2 separate regions of the Homo sapiens genome follow, and region 2 is linked to region 1. Evidence: promoter capture Hi-C in 16 types of primary human blood cells and fetal thymus (Javierre and others, 2016). All regions are on one chromosome and are shown on one strand. The core of a region is centred on a gene start or on the middle of the fragment in contact, and the rest is flanking DNA. Distances in the headings are between cores, read along the strand shown. Region 1 holds the start of STOM (stomatin). Region 2 holds the start of PSMD5 (proteasome 26S subunit, non-ATPase 5).

Region 1 (5,408 bases), core at 233-2,732:
TCTGGCTAGTTTACACAGACTGCATACTTGCACACCTTCCTGTCCTGAAAAGACCTTTTGACGCATGGGGTCTAACTGTAATACATGTATTGTTATTATTTTTTAGAGTCCATCAGGCTGGAGTGCAGTGATCTGATCATACATCACTGCAGCCTCCAACTCTTGGGCTCAAGTGATCCTCCTGCCCCAGCCTCCTGACTAGTTGGGACCGCAAGCACACACCACCCCACCTGGCTATTTTTTTTTTACTTTTTGTAGAGATGGGGACGTCACCATGCAGGCCAGGCATTTAACATTTAATTGGTAACTCTTCACTCCAAAATGAACATGGGTTGTATGTTACATGCATGTTTGCTCAATGGGCATGCGTCAGGACCACCCTCATGAATATTCATAGCTCCTCCTGTCACCTGCTGAATATGCATGTCTACCCAAGCTGTTCAGCATAAAGCCGCTACTCCAACCCCTCCTCCAACGAAATGCCTGTCTCTGGTCCTGGCCATTCTCCAGCCTGCGGAATGGCCACCTTGCAGGCTGTAACCCCTTACAAGAAATAAAGTCTCCTCTCCTGTTTTTTTGTTTTTTGTTTTGTTTTTTTGAGACGGAGTCTCGCTCTGTCACCCAGGCCATCTCGGCTCACTGCAACCTCTGCCTCCCAAGTTCAAGCGATTCTCCTGCCTCAGCCTCCCAAGTAGCTGGGATTACAGGCGCGCGCCACACGCCCGGCTAATTTTTGTATTTTTAGCAGAGACGGGGTTTCACCATGTTGGCCAAGCTGGTCTCGAACTTCTAACCTCAGATGATCTACCCGCCTCGGCCTTCCAACGTGCTGGGATTACAGGCGTGAGCCACCGCGCCCGGCCTCCTCTCCTTTTCCAAATTTATACATTTTGATTTTCTTAACACACCTCACTCGAGTTCGTTCACTTCGGCTGCGGCGTGATCTGCCGGCCCTCTCAGCTCAGGCTGACCTCAGCGCCCTCACTTCGGCCACTTCTGTGTCCCTCAGTCTTCTCCCCTCAACTCGGACCTCGCGCCCTCATGACAGGGCGCCATTTTCTTCCCTCTAACTCCTCAGCCCAGAGGAGGCGCCTTGGTCCCGTACCTCTGCCCGGCAAGGCGACTTTTCTTCACTTGCACTTTTGCCTCGGGTCATCCTCTGCTGCTACCTCCCCACTATCCTCACCATCTGCTCCACGTCCCGTGGCTTCCGCCCTCCCTTCCGGTGCAGGGCCCCGGCCTCATACCCACAGCCTTGGGGGCTCTCGCCCCTCAGGCCACGCCCCTCAGGCCACGCCCCTCAGCCCACAGAACTAGCGGGAAGTGACTGCGAAGCAGTCGCGCCGTGGAGGGACAGGAGGGCGGGGATTGGGAGGTGGGTCCTCCTCGATCCTGGGCGTTGATTGGCCAACTCTCACGAGGGCGGGACCTCGATTGGGGGCGGGGCGGCAATCTGGGTCTTGTGCCTCTGGCTCCTCAGGGCATTCCCGGCGGCTCCGGGTTTGGCAACGAGGACGGGGGAGTGCGACTGCGTCTCGGGCAGCATGGCCGAGAAGCGGCACACACGGGACTCCGAAGCCCAGCGGCTCCCCGACTCCTTCAAGGGTGAGTCCCGCGTCCCCTGACCCTCCCCCGTGGACCGAGCCCCCGCCCGCAGCGTGCGCTCCGAGGTCTGACAGCCGGGCTCCTGGCCAGTCTCCGCTGCTTCGGGCTGGGCGAGATCTCAAAGCCGCGGCTCCTCCCTAGTAAACTGAGCATCACGAACCCTGTTTGGCAGACTGAGGTCACGATGGAGGGGTGGCGGGCTGCCAACGGCACGTTTCCCATCGCACGGGCCCTGGTTATCTCGCGGCCGCCAGATGCCAAGCCCCATGCCAGGGCTGCACTATCTCGTGTCACGCACGCGGACTAGGAAACGCAGAGGGAACTGGCAGCCAGCGAGGCGGGGACCGGGACCCCACATCTCACCCTTTGCCCACTCCCCTTCTTTCCCGACTCACTCTCTCGAAGGCCGCCTCCTCCACCCAGCCCTGGCCTGGCCCCAGGGTGAACCCCCTCCTCCCCCAATCCCACCTCCCGAAACTTAGACCGATTTGCAGAAGGAAGAAGTCTCTCTGGCTTTCTTCTTACCTCTCTTTCTAGCTCCACTTTCTGCCCCATTTTTCCCCCTCCGCTTTCCTCTGCGTTTTGGAGAACTCTCCTTCCCGGCTTTTGTTCCTCGCCAGGAACCCTGAGTTCTCCCACCCTCACCCCCACCCTCCCTTCCCAGTCTTCAAGGCAGGAGCTGTAAGTGGCTCAGTCTCGTTCCCCTGTGGAGGAACTGGTACTCTGGGGAGGGGGTTCCAATAAAGAGAGATGGTGGACCTCTCAGGAGTCCTGGTACCCACTCAGGAGCTCTTAGTGATCCAGAGGAATTACAGTGTTTCTAAAGATGGAATTTCAGGCAGGATGGCAGTGAAAGCAATTTAGAGGGCTGGGTGGTCCTTTCCAGGACCCCTCAAAGAACATGACATTGGAGTCATCTATTCTGATTATTTGTAAAGCCAGCTTTATCCACAGCATCTTAGCTATAAGTTCCATTTCCCTTGTCCAGGGATCCCTGTGTTCAGTTCCTTCCCAGGAGCATCAAAGGAATTACAGAAATCTTTATTCCTCACTTTTTGTCTACTAATAACGTTGCAGGTTATCTTCCCAAATGGAGAGTGTAACAGGGAGGAGTTGATGAGAATAATGGCAACCACAACAACAAAAATTGAAACTAAATAGGTCAGGCTCCGTATCACTTTTTTTTTTTTTTTTGAGACGGAGTTTCGCTTTTCTTGCCCAGGCTGGAGTGTGATCTCCGCTCACTGCAACCTCCGCCTCCCGAGTTCAAGTGATTCTCCTGCCTCATCCTCCCAAGTAGCTGGGATTACAGGCGTGCACCACCATGCCCAGCTGATTTTGTATTTTTTGTAGATACAGGGTTTCACCATGTTGGTCAGGCTGGTCTCAAACTCCTGACCTCAAGTGATCCACACGCCTCGGCCTCCCAAAGTGCTGGGATTACAGGCATGAGCCACCGCGACCCCCCCAGTGCCACGTATTTTATGTATATATTATTTTATTGAATCTTCACAACAGATGATGTGGTAGGTATTCTTATCCCCATATTATACTTGATGAAACTGATAGTCAAAGAAGTTAAATTACTTAAAGTCACTTAGTTTGTATTTAAATCTAGATTTGACTGATTCTAAAACTTGAATAGGGAAAAAATGGGTGGTAACTGCCTCTTCGATAGTTAGTTGTCTTTTCCTAGATAAAAAGGTGGGTATTAGCATGCATTCCTCAATACCCTGACCTCCTGGTGGGAAACTGCAGTGGCAAATCTGCTTGGAGTTCTTTGAGAATCAACATGATCTTTGTACTTAATGTTTATTTACAGACAAGTGGTCATAGATGAGTTTTTAACTTCCAGTTTTTTTCCTTGGTTCTACACTTAACTACTGTTTAGACAGAAATCTTTCAAGATCTAATGAAAACCACCACTTCCTCTCAAAAATTAGACATACAAATAAAATTTTGCATAGTCTGTGTTTTTTTAATGTAAACCTAACAAATTTGACGCTACTAGGAAAGGTATTGCTGGAATTTATTAAATAGAGGTTATTGAATGCTTTCCCTGTGCCAAAAGACAGTTTAAGTGCTTTACAAACATTATCTAATTGCATTCTGTAACAGCTCTACAAGGAAAAAGTCATTATTCACCATTTCACAATAAGGATACTGCGGCTCACATGGCAAAATCACAGTTTCTAAAATTTTCAGCCCTGTTTCAAACCCCGGCTATCTGATTTTCTGAATCATTTTCCCTATCCCAGAGATGGATACCAAAATGTAGAACCTTGTCTAACTTCAGTACTTTACTTAAGTTGAGAGACAATAAACAAAAAAAGCCTGGAGGAACACAGCTTCAGTGATGACTTCCAGAAGGCTGCTTGTGAAAGAAGCAGTGGAATTTTAAAAGCCTAAACTCTGCCTCTTTGTCTTTACTGAGAATTAGTCCTAGGTAGGTAAATAGCACCAGGCCTAGGGCAAGACTAGTTTTTCTTAAAGGCGATGCATTCACTTTGTAATGAAATAATGCAAGTAATTGCAAAGAATGTATCACTGTAATTAAGAGCCATGTCAACAAATAAAACCCTTTGGGAGACTGATTGTTTATTTCAGTTGTTATAGCCAATCAGATTGGAGAGAACTTTGTAACTTCTTCAATAATTAATCTGAGTTATTCCATCAGTGGTCATAAATTAACTTATGGAAGACCAAGTCTACAAAACTGGCATATTTATTCATGATTAAATAGATTTTTGGTGCCATTTGATGGTATAAATTTTACCTAGTAAAAGACAGTCACTGATTCCTAGTCATCTTTGAGGGAAAAAAAAGATGTTGATAAAGTGATACAGATGGAATTCAAAATCAGTTTTTTTAAGAAGGCATGGAAAAGCAATTTCCTGAAAACTATTGTAACTACAAAAAAAGTGAATACCCTTTCCCTGCGTCTGCCTGGTATCCTGTGCATATCTCTATCATAATGTTTATTACATAACATATTTATCAGTTTGACTCATCTGTCCCCTCCCCTCCCATAATTAAACTACACTTTTTCTTTTTGAGACCGGGTCTTGCTCTGTTGCCCAGGCTGGAGTGCAATGGTGCAGTCATAGCTCACTGTAGCCTCAAGTGATCCTCCCACCTCAGCCCCTCGAGTAGCTGGGACTACAGGTATGCACCACCACACCCAGCTAATTTTTTTTTTTTTTTTAACTCAGGGTCTCACTATGTTGCCCAGGCTGGTCTCGAACTCCTGGACTCAAGCGATCCCACTTTACCCTCCCAGAGTGCTGGGACAACAGGCATGAGCTACCAAGCCTGGCCTTTAGACCACACTTTTGAAAATAGAGATTGTGTCCTTCTTCACTGTAGTAGCCCAGTATCAAGTACATAGTAGGTATACAAAAACATTTGTTCAAAGAAAAAGGAAGCAGGCAGGGAGATAAAAATCCCCCTGGAGTAAATAACATTGTTAAGTGTTTGCCTTAGCCTTATGTTGGTGGAGCAGTTTTTCTGTTTACCATTTATTTTATTAAGTTTGTTATAACTTAAGCTGTTGATTTTAGGGCATGGCCATTATGTTTATTATATATTATTACAGATAGACTATTTGTCTGGGTTTATATTATCAATAAAAGGATTATAATTGCCAAGATAATATATTGTCCTTAATAAGAAATCTCCTTTTATTTATTAAAGCATGGAAAGAGAAGTTTAGAGGTCATGGTTAGTAGAAAGAAGGAAGTGTGTGTCAATAGATAATTTTCTATTGACACACACTTGTTGATAATTAAAATAGATCATTTCAA
Region 2 (5,160 bases), core at 123-2,622, 530 kb after region 1:
TGTCCTTAGCTTCCTCTAAGCTTTCCAGATTTTTGTCTTTTGCCCCAAAAGTAGGAAGGCATGCACTGCAAAAGATGGGTCATCTCCTTGGCGTTGAAGACCTGTTGAGGCACAAAGCCTCTCTCCAGTTGCTTGGAATACTCGATACCCACTCAGGATTTAAGGGTCCTTCCTCCCCATCAACTTCGTATGTTGCAAAACAGCAGCGATTTTTAAAGTTCTCAAACCATCCCTTGCTCGCATGATACTTATTTGGGTTGTCCTCCCCAGATGTTTCCCATTGGTTCCCTGTAGATGTATTTGGCCTGGTTGCAGAGGGCCTTCCGGGTCAGATGCCGCCCTCTGTCATCTGGCCTTCCACCTAAAAGGTTAACTGGGTCTCCACCTTCACGATGTTTACATTACAGGGGAATACACAGCAGCTTAGAGCAGATGGGCGACCAACTCTCCACGCTGGTCTTTCTTGGTTTCCTGAGGGTAGTGGAGGACAAGAGGGGAAAGCAGGGTCTTGCTCTGTCGCCCAGGCTGGAGTGCAGTGGCACAATCACCGCTCACTGAAGCCTCGACCTCCTAGACTTAGGGGACCCTCCCGCTTCAGCCTCCCGAGTAGCTGGGACTACAGGTGCGTGCCACCACACCGCACTAATTTTTTTCCTTTTTTTTTTTTTTTCTTTTTGGTAGAGACGGGTTTCTCACTATGTTGCCCAGGCTGGTCTCGAACTCCCGGGCTCAAGCGATCCTCCCGCCGCGGCCTCCCAAAGCGCTGGGATTACAGGTACGGCCACTGCGACCAGCTGCTTCTCCTTGGTGGACTGATCAACACCAACAAGGCGGCGCACGTCCCTATTACTCACGCCTTCGTCAGGCTCCTGGAGAATATTCATCCAGTCTTCCAGAGGCATGACGCTCCGCCTCCTCTTGACAGGTGGCTGGCCCAGGATCAAGATTCCCCTCCAGGCCACCGCTCCACCTGGGGAGGCCTCAGCCGCGGCCGTAGCCGCGGTGGCCTCCATAACGGCTGCAGTCGTCCCCGCCTAGAGCCTGGTTTTGGAGCCTCGAGGACGCCGACGAGGCTGTTTAACTTCCCGTGAGTCCCCACCCTCGCCGCTCCGCTGGCCGGGAATTTGGCAAGGCTTTGCCCTACGCGGTAAACACGTAAGCCTACTGGCCTCCGCATTTCCCTGAGCAGCGACCTAGATGACGCCAGACTGAGGGAGCCGCAACCACTGGCTACAGTTGACACGGCCCTAACGGAGGCTTCTCGCGAGGCTTGGCAGCCCCATAGCCATCTCAGGGACAAGGAGGCTGTGATCAGATCTCGCGAGGTTCAGGAAAGCGCCCCGGGAACTGGGCCGCTGGGCCAGCCCCTGCGTCGGGGGGCAAGATGGCAGCCCAGGCTTTGGCGCTGCTGAGAGAGGTAGCGAGGCTGGAAGCGCCGCTGGAGGAGCTACGCGCGCTTCACTCCGTGCTGCAGGCAGTGCCGCTCAACGAGCTTCGCCAGCAAGCGGCGGAGCTGCGCCTCGGCCCGCTCTTCTCCCTGCTTAACGAGAACCATAGGTGAGAGGACCCCGGGGGCTTGAGCCGAGGAGAGGGGCACCCCTAAATATGGACATGAGAGTGGTTGAGGGCAAGAACAGCGCTTTTCCCAGTCACAGGGGAGGTGGAAAGTAGCCGAAATTTGCAGAGAAGGAAGGATCCTGGGTTCAGAGGCAGGAGATGGGGTTCAGGTTCAGCCTCTGAGAGTGCCCCAGGGTGTTTTCTCCCGTCGCCTGGCCTCGCTGCCTCTGAGCAGTGAGGCACTGCCTTCTTCATCAAATAGAAATTAAAGGAGGAAAGCAAAGCTGTCCACTTACAAGGAGCATTCCACATCTCTTTGTACAGGTTCTTGATTTGTTTCCCCTTCTAAAAGGATCCTATCCTGGCAATGTGGCAAGAACCATCAGCATTTTAAATTCACATGCTTTTTCATCCAGTCATTCTTGTTAAAAAAATTTAATGCAAGTATACGCGCACAAAATGTGCAGTTACTTTGTTCTTTCGAACCCGAGGCTGGAATCGCCCCAAAAGCAGCGGCAAGAGAGTTCCCACGAGGGAGTGCTTCAAACCTTCCCGAGATGTGGCTGGTTGGGATGACAGAAAAAGAAGCACTGAATGCCAAGGCGATCAGTCCAAAAGCGTTTAGGGGGAAACCTGCAGAGGGCTGCAGAAATTGTCAAGACGGACACCGGGAGAAAGGTGTTCCTGGGTATGTCCGCAGTGAGGGGGTCAGGGTATGGAGTTCAGATGAGAGTTTAAAGGAATTTGGCTCAGGGTTGAGGCCAGTTTCTTCCAGTGTTTTGGGCAACAACCTAGGTACCTTTATCAGGCCTGTGAATGTTCAAGGCCCCTGGTTTATGGTCAAGCCTGCTAGGGAAACCTGCCGCTGGCTAGGTCAGAGAGCAATCAAGGCACTCTGATTTTCCATCAGGACAGAGAAAGAAAGGGGGCGACTGGAGGACCCTACAACATTATATGCAAGAATATAACATATCGTGTGTGGCACCAGAACACTAGAAACAATCTAAATATCCGTTAACAGAGGATTCCAAATTATGCGCTATTACTCTGTAACACTGTGCAGTTATTTAAGTTATTGAGGTAGATGTATATATATGTATGTGGACATGGAAAGATCTCTGTGTTTTGTTTTGTTTTGTTTTGTTTGTTTGTTTGTTTTCAGACGAGTCTCGCTCTGTCTCCCAGGTTGGAGTGCAGTGGCGCGATCTCGGCTCACTGCAACCTCCGCCTCCCTGATTCACGCCATTCTCCTGCCTCAGCCTGCCGAGTACCTGGGACTACAGGCGCCCGCCACCACGCCCGGCTAATTTTTTGTATTTTTAGTAGAGACGGGGTTTCACCATGTTAGCCAGGATGGTCTCGATCTACGGACCTCGTGATCCGCCCGCCTCGGCCTCCCAAAGTGCTGGGATTACAGGCGTGAGCCACTGCGCCCGGCCAATCTCTGTGTTGTTGAATGAAAAAGAAAATCGCAGGGTATATCAATCTATAATTTTAACCTGTAATTTTTAAAAAGGATTACAATCTTCCCAACCCCCACAGGCATGTAAAACTTGTATAACATTGCAAATATCTGCAAAGGTACACCAGAAACTATTAATAGGGAAGTGGGTCTGAAAATAGTAGGACAACTTTTATTTTTGATTTTTTACACATCCGTAGTGTTTGATTAAAAACACTTTGTAGGCCCGGTGCAGTGGCTCACGCCTGTATTCCCAACACTTTGGGAGGCTGAGGCGGGCAGATCACCAGGTCAAGAGATCGAGACCATCCTGGCCAACATGGTGAAACTCCGTCTCTACTAAAAATACAAAAGTTAGGCCAGGCACGGTGGCTCACGCCTGTAATCCCAGCACTTTGGGAGGCCGAGGCGGGTGGATCACAAGGTCAAGAGTTCGAGACCAACCCGGCCAACATAGTGAAACCCTGTCTCTACTAAAAATACAAAAATTAGCCGGGCATGGTGGCACGTGCCTGTAGTCCCAGCTACTCTGGAGGCTGAGGCAGGAGAATCTCTTGAACCTGGGAGGCAGAGGTTGCGGTGAGACGAGATCGCTCCACTGCACTTCAGCCTGGGCAACAGAGTGAGATTCCGTCTCAAAAAAAAAAAAAAAAAAGCAAAAATTAGCTGGGCTTGGTAGCGCACACCTGTAGTCCCAGCTAGTTGGGAGGCTGAGGCAGGACAATCACTTGAACCTGAGAGGTGGAGGTTGCAGTGAGCCAAGATTGCACCACTGCACTCCAGCCTGGCAACACAGTGAGACTCCATCTCAAGATAATAATAATAATATAATAATAATAATAAAAACACTTTGTAGACCGGGAGCAGTGGCTCACACGTGTAATCCTAACACTTTGGGAGGCTGAGGCGGGTGGATCGCTTGAGCTTTGGAGTTTGAGACCAGCCTGAGCAACATGGTGAAACCCTGTCTCTACAAAACAAAACAAAAAATTAACTGGGCGTGCGTGCCTATAGTCCCAGCTACTTAGAGGGCTGAGGGGGAGGATCCCTTGAGCCCAGGAGGCAGAGGTTGCAGTGAGCCAAGATTGCACCACTGCACTCCAGCCTGGGTGACAGAGTGAGGCCCTTTTTTTTTTTTTTTTTTTTTTGAGACGGGTTCTCGTTCTGTTGCCCAGGCTGGAGTGCAGTGGCAGGATGTAAGCTCACTGTAACCTCGCCTCCCAGGTTGAAGCAATTCTCCTGCCTCAGCCTCCTGAGTAGCTGGGACTATAGGCACGTGCCACCACCACAACGCCCAGCTAATTTTTTGTGTTTTTAATAGAGATGCAGTTTCACCATGTTGGCCAGGCTGGTGTCGAACTCCTGACCTCAAGTGATCTGCCTTGCCTGCCTCGGCCTCCCAAAGTGCTGGGATTACAGGCATGAGCCACTGCGCCCAGCCAAGACTCTGTCTAAAAAAAAAAAAAAAAAAAAAAAGATTAAAAAAACATTTTATAATTCTTACCTGGATTCTGGGGAAAAAAAGGAAAAAAAAACCACTTTGTATTTGATAATTTGATCATTTAAAAGAGTTTTGAAATGTTTGTGATCAAAGACTTTCAAGTGACCTTACTACTTGAAAAGATTATGAACCACTGAATCAACAGTGGATGATTTCAGAGCGCTTTCTTGGCTCTGACCTTCTAAGATTCCTTCCTTTTCTGTAAGTGTTCTCCATTCATGATGTCTATCAGTTAACATTATTTGGGTCTGCCTATGAAATGTCTCTTATTTGTCTCCTCTTTAATTCAAGCCCTCATTTTTTCCCTATTGCTAGGTCTGTAGTGTTAGTCTGACTTCTCCTTACCTCTGAAATTCCTTTTCTAGCAAATTCCTTTTCTAGCAAATTCCTTCCCACCTTGTAACCCCAGTGAGCATACATCTCGAGTCAGCTGGTGCTAATCTTTTCCGTGGTTTCCCATTGCCTGTAGTGAGTTTTTAGAATGCCATTTGGGCCCTTTACAGTATATTTCCATCCTACTTTTCCAACCTCACTTTTTTCCTCCACTCCACTTCTTTTCATCTGCTCCAGCTACCATGTGGCACCCTTATTTTTCCTTAAGCCTGACTTGCACTTTCCTAACTTTACTCATACCAGCCTT

What was found. The method cuts DNA at HindIII sites, captures the fragments that hold promoters and counts their contacts. A CHiCAGO score of 5 or more calls a contact.
Region 2: a contact is called between the fragment with the promoter of PSMD5 here and the fragment with the promoter of STOM in region 1, in 3 of 17 cell types (naive CD8 T cells, activated CD4 T cells and total CD8 T cells). The highest score is 7.1, in naive CD8 T cells.

Annotation. Positions count from the first base shown.
Region 1 is chr9:121,366,324-121,371,731 of GRCh38, reverse strand. STOM (stomatin) reads left to right here and starts at 1,482. Exons shown (of 7, transcript NM_004099.6): 1 at 1,482-1,605. The coding sequence starts at 1,545. LOC102723324 (a long non-coding RNA gene) reads right to left here and starts at 1,839. Exons shown (of 7, transcript NR_187160.1): 1 at 1,766-1,839. RefSeq lists enhancers at 968-1,057, 517-1,477. The HindIII fragment of the contact is 8,041 bases long and covers 1-5,408 here.
Region 2 is chr9:120,839,134-120,844,293 of GRCh38, reverse strand. It overlaps PSMD5 (proteasome 26S subunit, non-ATPase 5), which reads left to right and starts at 1,372. Exons shown (of 10, transcript NM_005047.4): 1 at 1,372-1,557. The coding sequence starts at 1,385. It also overlaps the pseudogene CUTALP. RefSeq lists enhancers at 801-1,150, 1,109-1,403, 1,169-1,463, 1,351-1,650, 1,222-1,751 and 1 more. The HindIII fragment of the contact is 10,742 bases long and covers 23-5,160 here.